Regions from separate parts of the Homo sapiens genome. Here region 2 is linked to region 1. Evidence: promoter capture Hi-C in 16 types of primary human blood cells and fetal thymus (Javierre and others, 2016). All regions are on one chromosome and are shown on one strand. Each heading gives the region's core, a stretch centred on a gene start or on the middle of the fragment in contact. The rest is flanking DNA. Distances are from core to core; before and after follow the strand shown.

Region 1 (5,778 bases), core at 1-2,500:
ACCCATACCCAGGATGGAGAGGATCACTCTGGGAGACACGAGCTCGGGCCCCATCTCAGAGCGGCCGACCTGGCACTCATACTCCGCGTCATCGCTGAGGTCACAGGCCTCGATGTGCAGGTGGAATTCACCTGCAGGGGGAGCCGGAAGTCAGGGCCGCAGCTTCCGCTGGTGGCTGAGGGTCTCAGGCTCTGATCCCTTACCTCTAGCAGGGTCCCCTTCCAGGCGGTACCTCGGGAAGCCTGGGATCCTGGGGTCGGGGCCCAGGAGCAGCCCATCTTTGGCCCATTGCACCGCACTGCCAGGGGTGCTGACCCCACAACGCAGCTCCACTGAGGCCCCCTCCACCACCGTCAGGTTTTCAGGCAGGGCCCAGAAGCCCCGGGGAACGGAGGCAGGAATCGCCAACTGCGCCAGGCCTGAGGACACAGCGCGGTGCAAGGAAAGGGCAGAGGGTTTGTCTAGGGAAGGTAAGTGGGAAATGGGGGCCACTTGGCGCTGGGTACAAGGCTGGGATCCCACTCACCTTCAGTCAGCAGCCCCAGGAGCAGGAGAGAAGCCCTGAGCGTCGTCCCCAGGGCCATCACAGGTCCCCCTACTGTGACCCCCACAGCGCCCGCTGCCAGCCACCTGCGTCTGTCTGGCTTTCTCTGGGTCCCTCTCTGTGTGTCTCTGCCACCTGCTTTTCTTTTTTATCTCTTTCCGTTACTCTCCTCCCTTTCTCGTTTTCCTCTTCCCCTCTTCCCTGTGAGTATCTCTCTCTGTCTTGCTCTCAGTCTCAATCTCTGAGTCTCTTTCTCTGTCTCTTTAAAAAAACTTTTTTTTCTTTTTTCTTTTTTTTTTCTTTTTTTTTTTTTTAGAGACGGGGTCTCACTATGTTGGCCAGGTTGATCTCAGACTCTTTCCTTCAAGCCATCCTCCCACCTTGGCCTCCCCAAGTGTTGGGATTACAGGCGTGAGCCACTGCGCCCAGTCTCTTTATCTTTCCATCTTTCTCTCCTTGTCTAAGCCGTTCTCTCTCCTTTTGTCTCTGTCTCTTCCTCTCTCTCTGTCTCTCTCTCTCTCTCTCTCTCAATCTCTATCTTCTCTCCTGCCACCCCTCACTCCTGCTCCTTGTCTCACTACTCACAGCCTTTCAAGAAGGACCTGCAGCCCAGAGTCCAGCAGGCCAGGAGCCTAGGAGAGCGATGAGGCTGATGCAGGCACTGGCAGAGTCAGCCCTGCTCTCTGACCCAGCTTGAGCTCATTCTCACAGTGCAACCTCCCCCAGGTACCTTCCAGAGCCCCCAGCTCTGGCCTCTGCCCAGCAGGCTCCTCCCAGCTGGCCCAGCTGGAGCATAAAATCCCCTGTCAGCACATGCCAGGCGCGTTCCTCGGTGCCTCCCCAGCCTCCGTGACCCCAGGGCCTGGCTTAGGCTGGGAAGATGGGAGAAGTCAGATCAAGGTGGTCTCCCAGCTCAGCAGGGGAGCAGCCAGCTGGGCCCCCAGCTCTTCCTTGCCCTGATACATGACCTTGGCAAGTCTCTTTCTTTCTTTCTTTCTTTTCTTGAGATAGTCTTGCTCTGTTGCTCAGGCTGGAGTGCAGTGGCATCTCGGCTCACTGCAACTTCCACCTCCCATGGCTTGAACCTCCCAGGTTCAAGTAATTCTCCCACCTCTGTCTCCCAAGTAGCTGGTGCTACAGGTATATAGCACCATGCCTGGCTAATTTTTGTATTTTTACTAGAGACGGGGTTTCATCATGTTGGCCACGCTGGTCTCGAACTCCTGACCTCAGGTGATCCATCTGCCTCAGCCTCCCAAAATGCTGGGATTACAGACATGAGCCACCGCACCTGGCCTCCCTTCCTTTTTTAGTAGACATCAGTGCCTAAATGATGTCAGGGATCTCTGCTGGGGAGGATGCAAGAGTGAGTGTGACAGGCTGGGAGAGTGTGGGAGAGAGGGAAGATATGCATGTGTGTACGTGGGTGTGAGAGTGGGGAAGGTTAGAGTGAACTGCGATCTGTAATAAGCATGTGGAGAGCGTGTGTGTGACAGTGTCTTACGTGGGAGTGCACAGGGTGTGGGCGGGAGTAAAAGGCAGAGTCCAATTCCACCGGCCCCCAGTGTGGGTGCAGTGTGAGCCCAAAGTGGGCGCCCTTTGGCAAGGACTGCATGAGCTTTCTTCTCCCTCTTTTTCTTGCCCTCTCTCCCATCTCTTCTTTCCTTCTCCATGTCTCTCTCTCTCCCTCCCTCTATCTATCTTGATTTATCTTTCTTTCTTTTGAGATGGAATCTTGCTCTGTTGCCCAGGCTGGAGGGCAGTGGCATGATCTTGGTTCATTGCAGCCTCAACTTCCTGGGCTCAGGTGATCCTCCTGCCTCAGCCTCCTGAATAGCTGGGACTACAGGTGCACACCACCACTCCAGCTAATTTTTTAAAATTTGTTTGTAGAGACAGGGTCTTTCTCTATTGCCCAGGCTGGAGTGCAGTGGTGTGATCATGGCTCATTGAAGCCTCAAACCTCCTAGGCTCAAGTGTTCTTTCTGCCTCAGCCTCCTGAGTAGCTGGGACTACAGGCCCGCATCACCACTCTGGCTATTTTTTTTTTTTTTTTTTTTTTTTTGAGAGGGAGTCTTGCTCTGTCACCCAGGCTGGAGTGCAATGGTGCGATGTTGGCTCACTGTAACCTCCGCCTCCCAGGTCCAAGCGATTCTCCTGCCTCAGCCTCCTGAGTAGCTGGGAATACAGGCATTGACCACCACACCCAGCTAATTTTTGTATTTTTAGTAGAGACGGGGTTTCGCCATGTTGGCCAGGCAGGTCTCGAACTCCTGACCTCAGGTAACCCACCTGCCTTGGCCCCCCAAAGTGCTGGGATTACAGGTGGGAGCCGCTGCACCCCGCCACTTGGCTAATTTTTTTTAAATGTTTTTGCAGAGACAGAGTCTTGCTATATTGCCCAGGCTTGTCTGGAACTCCTGGGCTCAAGCAATCCTCCCATCTCGGCCTCCCAAAGTACTAGGATTACAGGCATGAGCCACCGCACCTGGCCCTTGATTTATCTTTCTTTTTTTTCTTTTTTCTCTTTTTTCTTTTTTTGAGATGGAGTTTCACTCTTGTTGCCCAGACTGGAGTGTAATAGTGTGATCTCGGCTCACTGCAACCTCTGCCTCCCGGGTTCAGGCGATTCTCCTGCCTCAGCCTCCCTAGTAGCTGGGATTACAGGCATGCGCCACCACGCCTGGCTAATTTTTTGTATTTTTAGTAAAGACGGGGTTTCTCCATGTTGATCAGGCTGGTCTCGAACTCCTGACCTCAGGTGATCAGCCTGACTCGGCCTCCCAAAGTGCTGGGATTGCAGGCGTGAGTCATTGTGCCCAGCTGATTTATCTTTCTATCTTTCTCCATCTGTTTGAGACTCTCTCGCTCTCTATATTAAGTTGTTAAATCTCAGTCAATCTTTATTTCACTGTGTCTCTCCATCTCTATATGTCTCTGTTATTCTGTTTCTCTGTCTCTGTTCTCACCTCTGTCGCTCCCCTCACCCCACAGTCTGTCTCACACACACCAGGAGCTCCATAAATATTTGTTCTCAGCCACACTCTGACCACGCCTCTTTCTCTTATGTGTCTCTCCATCTCCGAGTGGCTCTGCTCATCACATCCCTGGATTTTATAACCATATGCTGGTGGGCCTGCCCTCCCCGCGTGCACATACACTTGCCTGGGATAAGCTTCTTCTGCCTGCTTATCTCCTGCGGGAATTGGAAATGCTAGTTTTCTCCCTACCTCCCCAAGACCCCCGCCAATATCGTTCCCAGGAACAAGATGAGGCATCTGGCCTCAGCCCCCAGCTTCATCCTCGATGCTGGACTTCCATCTTCCCTCACATGCTTGACTCCTTGCCCTCCTCCCACCTCCCCTCTCCCAACTGCTCTCTACACCCCCTGGGAAATGGGCTGGATGCCGAGCTGGGGGAGTGGCTCTGTCCTGGGGGCCCTCGCCAGATGGTGTCCCTAGGTGCCAGAGCGTGGAGCTGTCCCTTGCTGGGGCCTTTAATAAGCACAAACCTTCCACCCTCCACCTTGGCTGTTTTCCTTCTCTGCATGCTCCTGGGACCTTGGGCTCTCCATCTTTCCATGTCCGTAGCCCCAGAGAGCCAGGAAGGGGAAGCGGCGTCAAGTGCCTGGAAAAACAGCCCCATGACTTGAGTTCCTCCCTAAGACTCAGGAGTTCCAGCCCCATGTCCATCCTATTTCAAAATCCAGGCACTAGATAAGCCACACAGAAGCCGGGAGTGTAGGCCCCCAGATCCCTCCCCTCTCAGACCCTGGGGTCTCAGTCCCTTCTCTCCAAGGACTCGGGAATTTGGGCCTCTGATCCTCCTGGCCACACTACCCACCCCCGCACCTCCCCATACACACACACACACACACACACACACACACACACACACACACACACACACATACACACAGGACTTAGGACAGATGTTCACGGTCTGATTTCCAAATCCTCCTGGGCCTGTGTGGGGGTGGGGAGAGATTGGCAGATAGATCCACCGACTCTTAAGACTTAAGACCAGATATTCTGACCCCTGTCACCCTCTTCCAAGTGCACCATGCACTTGAGTGCACCTTGAGTCTCCAGCCTCTCAAGGAACCGGGAGATCAGGCCATCAGCGTCTCAGCCAGCAAAGGCCTGAACCACCAGTCCCTTATAACCCTGTAAGTCCAACCCCCACTCCCAACCCCACTCCCCCATTTAGGGACACGGAGTCTGAGCCTAAGAACAGTGGAGAATCTGAATGTGGACCCTCCAGTTCTTACAGGTCCAGGAATGTCAGATCAGGGTCCCAGCCCCCCAGCCCTCCTTCAGGCTGCTCGGGGTCCCTCCCACCTGCTCGGCCAGCTGCGCAGCGTGGGAACGCCCCAGCTGGGCTGCATGGAGCCGTCAGGACAAGCTGCGCGGTTCCCAGCCTCCCTGCCTGCCCCGGCCCGGCACCGCCGCCTCCCAGCCGTCGCCGGGCAACCAGGCCGAGGGGCCCGGCCGGCCGAGTGGGGAGAGGGGTTGGGCTGGGACTGCGGGGTCCTGGGAAAGGAGGGGCCGAGGGCCTGGATTCCTGGGTCTTAGGACGTGCTGTAGTTTGCAGCAATAACAAGGGAACAGAGGGATATTTTGAGGAGGGGTTTTGAGGCTGGGGGAGTCGAGGTAGGGGTCCCAACTGTCCCCCAGGTATCGGTGTGCCCTCTTCCCGACACGCAGGCCCGGGGGAGCCCCGGACCCCGCATCCCCCAGGGCGCGGAAACTGGCGAGGCCCCAGGAGCTCCCATTTATAGCTCAGTTTCCACTGAGCGCAGTCCCTCTAGGACCTGGGCTGAGCAAGTTTCTTCCACTCTCTCCCTTCCCTCCTCCTCACCCCTTGCCTGCCCCTCAACCCCGGCAGGGCGCAGGTGTCCAACCCAGCCGGGACCCCCTCCCTCCTCGAACCCAGGTGTTCCGGCTCCCAGACCCCAATTGAGCTGGGGGCGCCCACCCGCCGGGGGATCCCGCCCTGCGTCCCCCATTCATCCGCGTCTCAGCCGCGGGAGTTTCTCAACGGGAAGAGGGCGGAGCTCCCGGGGGGCGGACCCGGGCGGGGCGAGCGGGATCGGGCCCTCTTGGGGTCTCCCAGAGACCCAGGCCGCGGAACTGGCAGGCGTTTCAGAGCGTCAGAGGCTGCGGATGAGCAGACTTGGAGGACTCCAGGCCAGAGACTAGGCTGGGCGAAGAGTCGAGCGTGAAGGGGGCTCC
Region 2 (5,671 bases), core at 1,012-3,511, 610 kb before region 1:
GTCTCACTCTCTAGCCCCCAGGCTGGAGTGCGGTGGTGCAATCTTGGTTCACTACAGCCTTTGCCTCCCAGGTTCAAGCAATTCTCTTCCCTCAGCCTCCCAAGTAGGTGGGATTACAGGCATGTACCACCATGCCCAGCTGATTTTTGTATTTTTAGTAGAGACGGGGTTTCACCATGTTGACCAGGCTGGTCTTGAACTCCTGACCTCAAGTGATCTGCCCGCCTCGGCCTCCCAAAGTGCTGGGAATACAGATGTGAGCCACAGCACCCGGCCAGAACTACTGGAGACTGGTAAATTTATAAGGAAAAGAAGATTAATTGACTCACAGTTCTGCATGGCTGGGGAGGCCTCAGGAAACTTCCAATCATGGTGCAAGGCGAAAGGGAAGCAGGCACCTTCACAAGGTGGCAGCAAAGAGACAGCAATTAGGGAACTGCCAGCTACTTTTAAAGCATCAGATCTCATGAGAACTCCCTCACTGCACGGGAGAAACCACTCCCATAATCCAATTACCTTCCACTGGGTCCCTCCCTTGACCTGTGGGGATTACAATTCAAGATGAGACTTGGGCGGGGACACAAAACCAAACCATATCACTCATCCACCTTGCACCAGACACCAAGGATCCAGGCTAAGTCCCTGACCTCTTGGAGCTTACATCCTAGTGGGGATGTATTAGTCAGGATAGGTTAAGTTATGCTATGTAACAAAGGATTCTAAAATCTTAGTGGCTTAATAAAATTTTTTTTCATGCGACATGTCCAAATTTGGCTGGGGAGAGCTATACTCCACAAAGTCCCTTCAGATACTGTGGCTAACAGAGGTGGTACCATCTGCAACATCATTAGTTGCTATGGCAGGATAAGGGAGTATAGCAAATCATGAACTGGCAATTGAATGCTTTGGTCAGTGATATGGTTTGGCTGTGTCCCCACCCAAACCTCATCTCATATTGTAGCTCTCATAATCCCCACGTGTCATGGGAAGGACCCGATGGGAGGTAATTGAATCATGAGAGCAGGTTTTTCCCATGCTATTCTCATGATAGTGAATAAGTCTCACAAGATCTGATGGTTTTTTTCTTTCTTTCTTTCTTTCTTTTTTTTTTTTTTTTTTTTTTGAGGGAGAGTCTCACTCTGCTGCTGCCCAGGCTGAAGTGCAGTGGCACGATCTCAGCTGACAGCAACCTCTGCCTCCCTGGTTCAAGCGATTCTTGTGCCTCAGCCTCCTGAGTAGCTGGAATTACAGATGTGCACCACCATGCCCAGCTAATTTTCATATTTTTAGTAGAGAGGGGGTTTCACCATGTTGGCCAGGCTGGTCTTGAGCTCCTGACCTCAAATGATCCACCTGCCTCGGCCTCCCAAAGTGCTGGGATTACAGGCATGAGCCACCATGCCTGGTGAGATCTGATGGTTTTATAAAGGGCAGTTCCCCTACACACAGTTGCTTGCCTGCCGCCATGTAAGACACGCCTTTGCTCCTCCTTTGCCTTCTGCCATGATTATGAGGCCTCCCCAGCCATGTGCAGCTCTGAGTCCATTAAACATCTTTTTCTTTAGAAATTACCCAGTCTCAGATATTTCTTCATAGTAGCAAGCAAATAGACTAATACACAGATGGTAAACAAATAAATGACTAATAAAACATCAGGTCATGGTAAATGCTTTGAAGAAAAAAAGAAGGCGCAAAGAGAGATTGGGGATGGAGACTATTAGGGGATGAATTATGACCCCACAAGTTCATATGTTGAAACACTGACCCCCAATACCTCAGAATATGACTGTATTGGGAAACAGGGCTTTTAAAGAGGTAATTAAGTTAAAATAGGGTTGTTAGAGTGGGTTCTAATCCAATATGACTAGTGCCCTTAAAAGATGAGGGAATTAGAACCCAGGCAGAGGGATGACCATGTGAGGACATAGTGAAAAGGGAACCATCTGCACACCAAGAAGAAAGGCCTCAGAATGAAACCAAACCTGCCAACACCTTGATTTTGGACTTCTAGCTTACAGAATTGCGAAGAAATAAATTTCTGTTGTTTAAACCACCCAGTCTCTGGTGTTTGTTATGGCAGCCCTAGCCAACTAATATAGAGACTATTTTATTTTTATTTATTCATTTGTTTTGAGACAGGGTCTCATTCTGTCACCCAGGCTGGAGTGCAGTGGTGTAATCATAGCTCACTGCAGCCTGAAACTCCTGGGTTCAAGTGATTCTCCTGTCTCAGCCTCCTAAGTAGCTAGGACTACAGGGACGTGCCACCATGCCTAGCTAATTTTTAAAATTTTTGGTAGAGATGGTAGACTGGATAAAGAAAATGTATACACCATGTAGAGGCTTGTCTTAAACTTACAGCCTCAAACTATCCTCCTGTCTCAGCCTCCCAAAGTACTGGGATTACAGGTGTGGGACACCATGCCCAGCCTGTGGGGAGAGAGGTAGGTGAGAAGAGAAGGCTTCTCTGAAGAAGTGACATTTGAGCAGACCTATATAAGATGGTTATGAAGATTCACACAGCGGCTCATGCCTGTGATCCCAGCACTTTGGGAGGCTGAGGCAAGTGGAGCACCTGAGATCATGAGTTCAAGACCAGCCTGGCCAACATGGTGAAACCCCATCTCTACTAAAGATACAAAAATTATCCAGGTGTGGTGGTGCACGCCTATAATCCCAGCTACTCAGAAGGCTGAGACAGGAGAATTGCTTCAACCTGGGAGGTGGAGGTTGTAGTGAGCTGAGATTGTGCCACTGCATTCTAGCCTGGGTGACAGAGTGAGACTCTGTCTCAAAAAAAAAAAAAAAAAAAAAAAAAAATCCAGAGAAAGCAAGGTCTGAACTAAGCACACCGCACATGCAAAGGTCTTGAGGTGGGAACAGGTTTGCTATGTGAATACCCATCAGCCAAAGACAATCAGGCATGCACCTATGAACAAAGTTAGGTTTTTTGACTTGCTGCAGTGAGGGCAGATGTACACCATGGGGAATGGTGTGGTGTCTCAGGAAGGTGTCAGAGAAGACTAACAGAATTTGGGCTGTGTTGTATGATTGTGGGAAGGATTCAAAGAAGTGGGGATTTGCTTTGGGTTGGGTGCTATCAAAAAGTGTAACCAATTCTTTTTTTTCAAACTTTTGATTTTAAGTTCAGGGGTATGTGTGCAGGTTTCTTATAGAGGTAAATTTATATCATGGGGGTTTGTTGTACATATAATTTCATCACCCAGGTATTAAGCCTAGTACCCCTTAGCTATTTTTCCTGATCCTCTCCCTCCTCCCACACTCTACCCTCTGATAGGCTCCAGTGTGTGTTGTTCCCCTTTATGTATTTGTGTTCTCATCATTTAGATTCCACTTATAAGGGAGAACATGCGGTATTTAGTTTTCTCTTTCTGCATTAGTTTGCTAAGGATAATGACCTTCAGCTCCATTCTTGTTCCTGCAAAGGGCATGATTTCATTCTTTTTTATGGCTGCATAGTATTCCATAGTGTATATGTACCACATTTTTTTAATCCAGTCTACCATTGATGGACATTTAGGTTGATCCTATGTCTTTGCTATTGTGAATAGTGCTGCAATGAATATAAGTGTGCATGTGTCTTTATGATAGAACAATTTATATTTCTTTGGGTGTATACCCAGTAATGGGCTTGTTAGGTTGAATGGTAGTTCTGTTTTTAGGTCTTTGAGGAATTGCCACACTGTCTTACATGCTAATTAACACTCCCACCAACAGTGTGTAAGCATTCCTTTTTCTCTGCAACCTCGCCAGCATGTTGTTTTTTGACTTTTTAATAATAGCCATTCTGACTGATGTGAGATGGTATCTCATGGTGGTTTTGATTTGCGTTTCACTAATGATTAGTGATGTTGAGCTTTTTTATATGATTCTTGGCCAGATGTATATTTTCTTTTGAAAAGTGTTTGGTCATGTCCTTTGCCCACCACGAGTGTAACCAATTCTATCTTTTCTAGAAGGTGAGAAGAACGGAGCAAAGCTAAAACTGAAATTGGTAAAGAAACAGCAGCCATTCAGATCAGCTGAGAGAAGGGGATGCTTGATATTTTGTGGTTTGGACAGTGTTCCTGTTTTGTCTCTGTGCAGGCATAATTACAGAGCAGTCTTGTTTCTATCTAGATGCATCAGAGTCACAGACAGGCCTTTGTTGTTGTTGTTCTGTGAACATTGTTCACCTTCAACAGGAGAACATCATGACCTAACAGTGCATTCTAGACAAGCTGCTAGCAACACCAAGACCCAGTTGTTACTGTTAGGCCAGCTCCCAGCTGTTAGAGGCTGCTTTCTCTTTCTTACATAGATGAGGAACTTCAGTGAAGTCTCTTCCAGCAATGAAAGACTGATCAAATGGCTTTCACTCTGTGACCCTCCGTTTCCTTATTTTCAAAGGATTTTAATTGTACTGGCCACATAGTGCTCTTGTGTGGATTTGATGAGATGTTATCTATAAAGTATCAGCCAGTATTATTATCTAGGGGTTAGCAATATGGACTCATCCTCCAAATATCAGAGTTCTGTGTTGGGACTCTGGATTACTACTTCTGATCATGGTTGTGCAGACACAGGGGGTGGGCCATGATTGGCTTAATCCCCACCAGCTGAACTGGCTTCCAGAAGGTATAAAGGGATAGCCACTGGATTTTCTCCCCTTTTGTTCCCTTTGGAAGGTGGACATTTAGGGATTAGGATATTCAAAAGCAACTGTGCATACAAGGGAATTTAGAAAGTCACTGCACAAGCTCAGGGAAAGATGCAAATTCAGAAAAGACCTAAGATGATCATAAGCTTTCATTTTAGGTTGATTCTAGCACAGATACATCTTATAACAATAAACAAACAAAAAAACCAGCAAACCCTGGGGAATGGGGAAAAGCTGATTTCCAGAGTTAGCACATTGTAAGATTCAAATGTCCATTTTCAACAAAAAAGTCACAAGACATACATACAAAGAAACAAGAGAGTATGGCCCATTCAAAGAAAAAATAAATAAACAATACCTGAGGAAGCCCAGGTGGTAGACTTACTAGACAAAGACATAAATAACTGTCTCAAAGATGCTCAAACAGCTAAAGGAGACATAGACGAAGACAGAAAAATGATGTATGAACAAAAGAAGAATATCAGCAAAAAGACAGAAAATGCAAAAAGGAACCAAAAGGAAAATTCTGGAGCTAAAAATACAATTAACTGAAATAAAAAATTCACTGAAGGGGCTCAAAAACAGATTTGAGCAGGCAGAAGAAAAATCAGCAAACTTGGTGACAGGAAAATTTATTGAGTCTGAGGGACAGGAAGAAAAAAGATTAAAGAAAGCTGAACAGAGCCTAAAGGATCTGTGGGACACCACAGAGGAGACCAACATACATATTATGGGAGGTCCAGAAGGAGAAGAGAGAGAAAAAGAGGAAGAAAGAATTGTAATTTTAAGAAATAAGATTGAAAACTTCCCAAATTTGATGATAGACATGAATCAACAAATCTAAAAACTCAATAAACTCCAAGTATGAAAAACCCAGAGATTCAAGCTGAGACACATTATAATCAAACTGTAAAAAGCCAAAGCCAAAGAAACAATCTTGAAAGCAGCAAGAGAGAAGCAACTTGTTACATTCAAGAAATCCTCAATAAGATTATTGGCAGATTTATCATT

Evidence for each region. Contacts are between HindIII fragments. The CHiCAGO score rates a contact against its expected background, and 5 or more counts as called.
Region 2: a fragment that was not itself captured here is called in contact with the fragment with the promoter of NPHS1 in region 1 in 1 of 17 cell types (neutrophils); the score reaches 6.4 in neutrophils.

Annotation. Positions count from the first base shown.
Region 1 is chr19:35,851,254-35,857,031 of GRCh38, forward strand. It overlaps NPHS1 (NPHS1 adhesion molecule, nephrin), which reads right to left and starts at 1,251. Exons shown (of 29, transcript NM_004646.4): 1 at 527-1,251; 2 at 204-419; 3 at 9-131. The coding sequence starts at 584. It overlaps KIRREL2 (kirre like nephrin family adhesion molecule 2), which reads left to right and starts at 5,658. Exons shown (of 15, transcript NM_199180.4): 1 at 5,658-5,778. RefSeq lists enhancers at 1-537, 538-1,179. The HindIII fragment of the contact is 3,857 bases long and covers 1-3,717 here.
Region 2 is chr19:35,236,323-35,241,993 of GRCh38, forward strand. No RefSeq gene overlaps it. Among named protein-coding and RNA genes, the nearest start is that of LSR, 9.8 kb to the right of the region's middle. The HindIII fragment of the contact is 5,085 bases long and covers 1-4,804 here.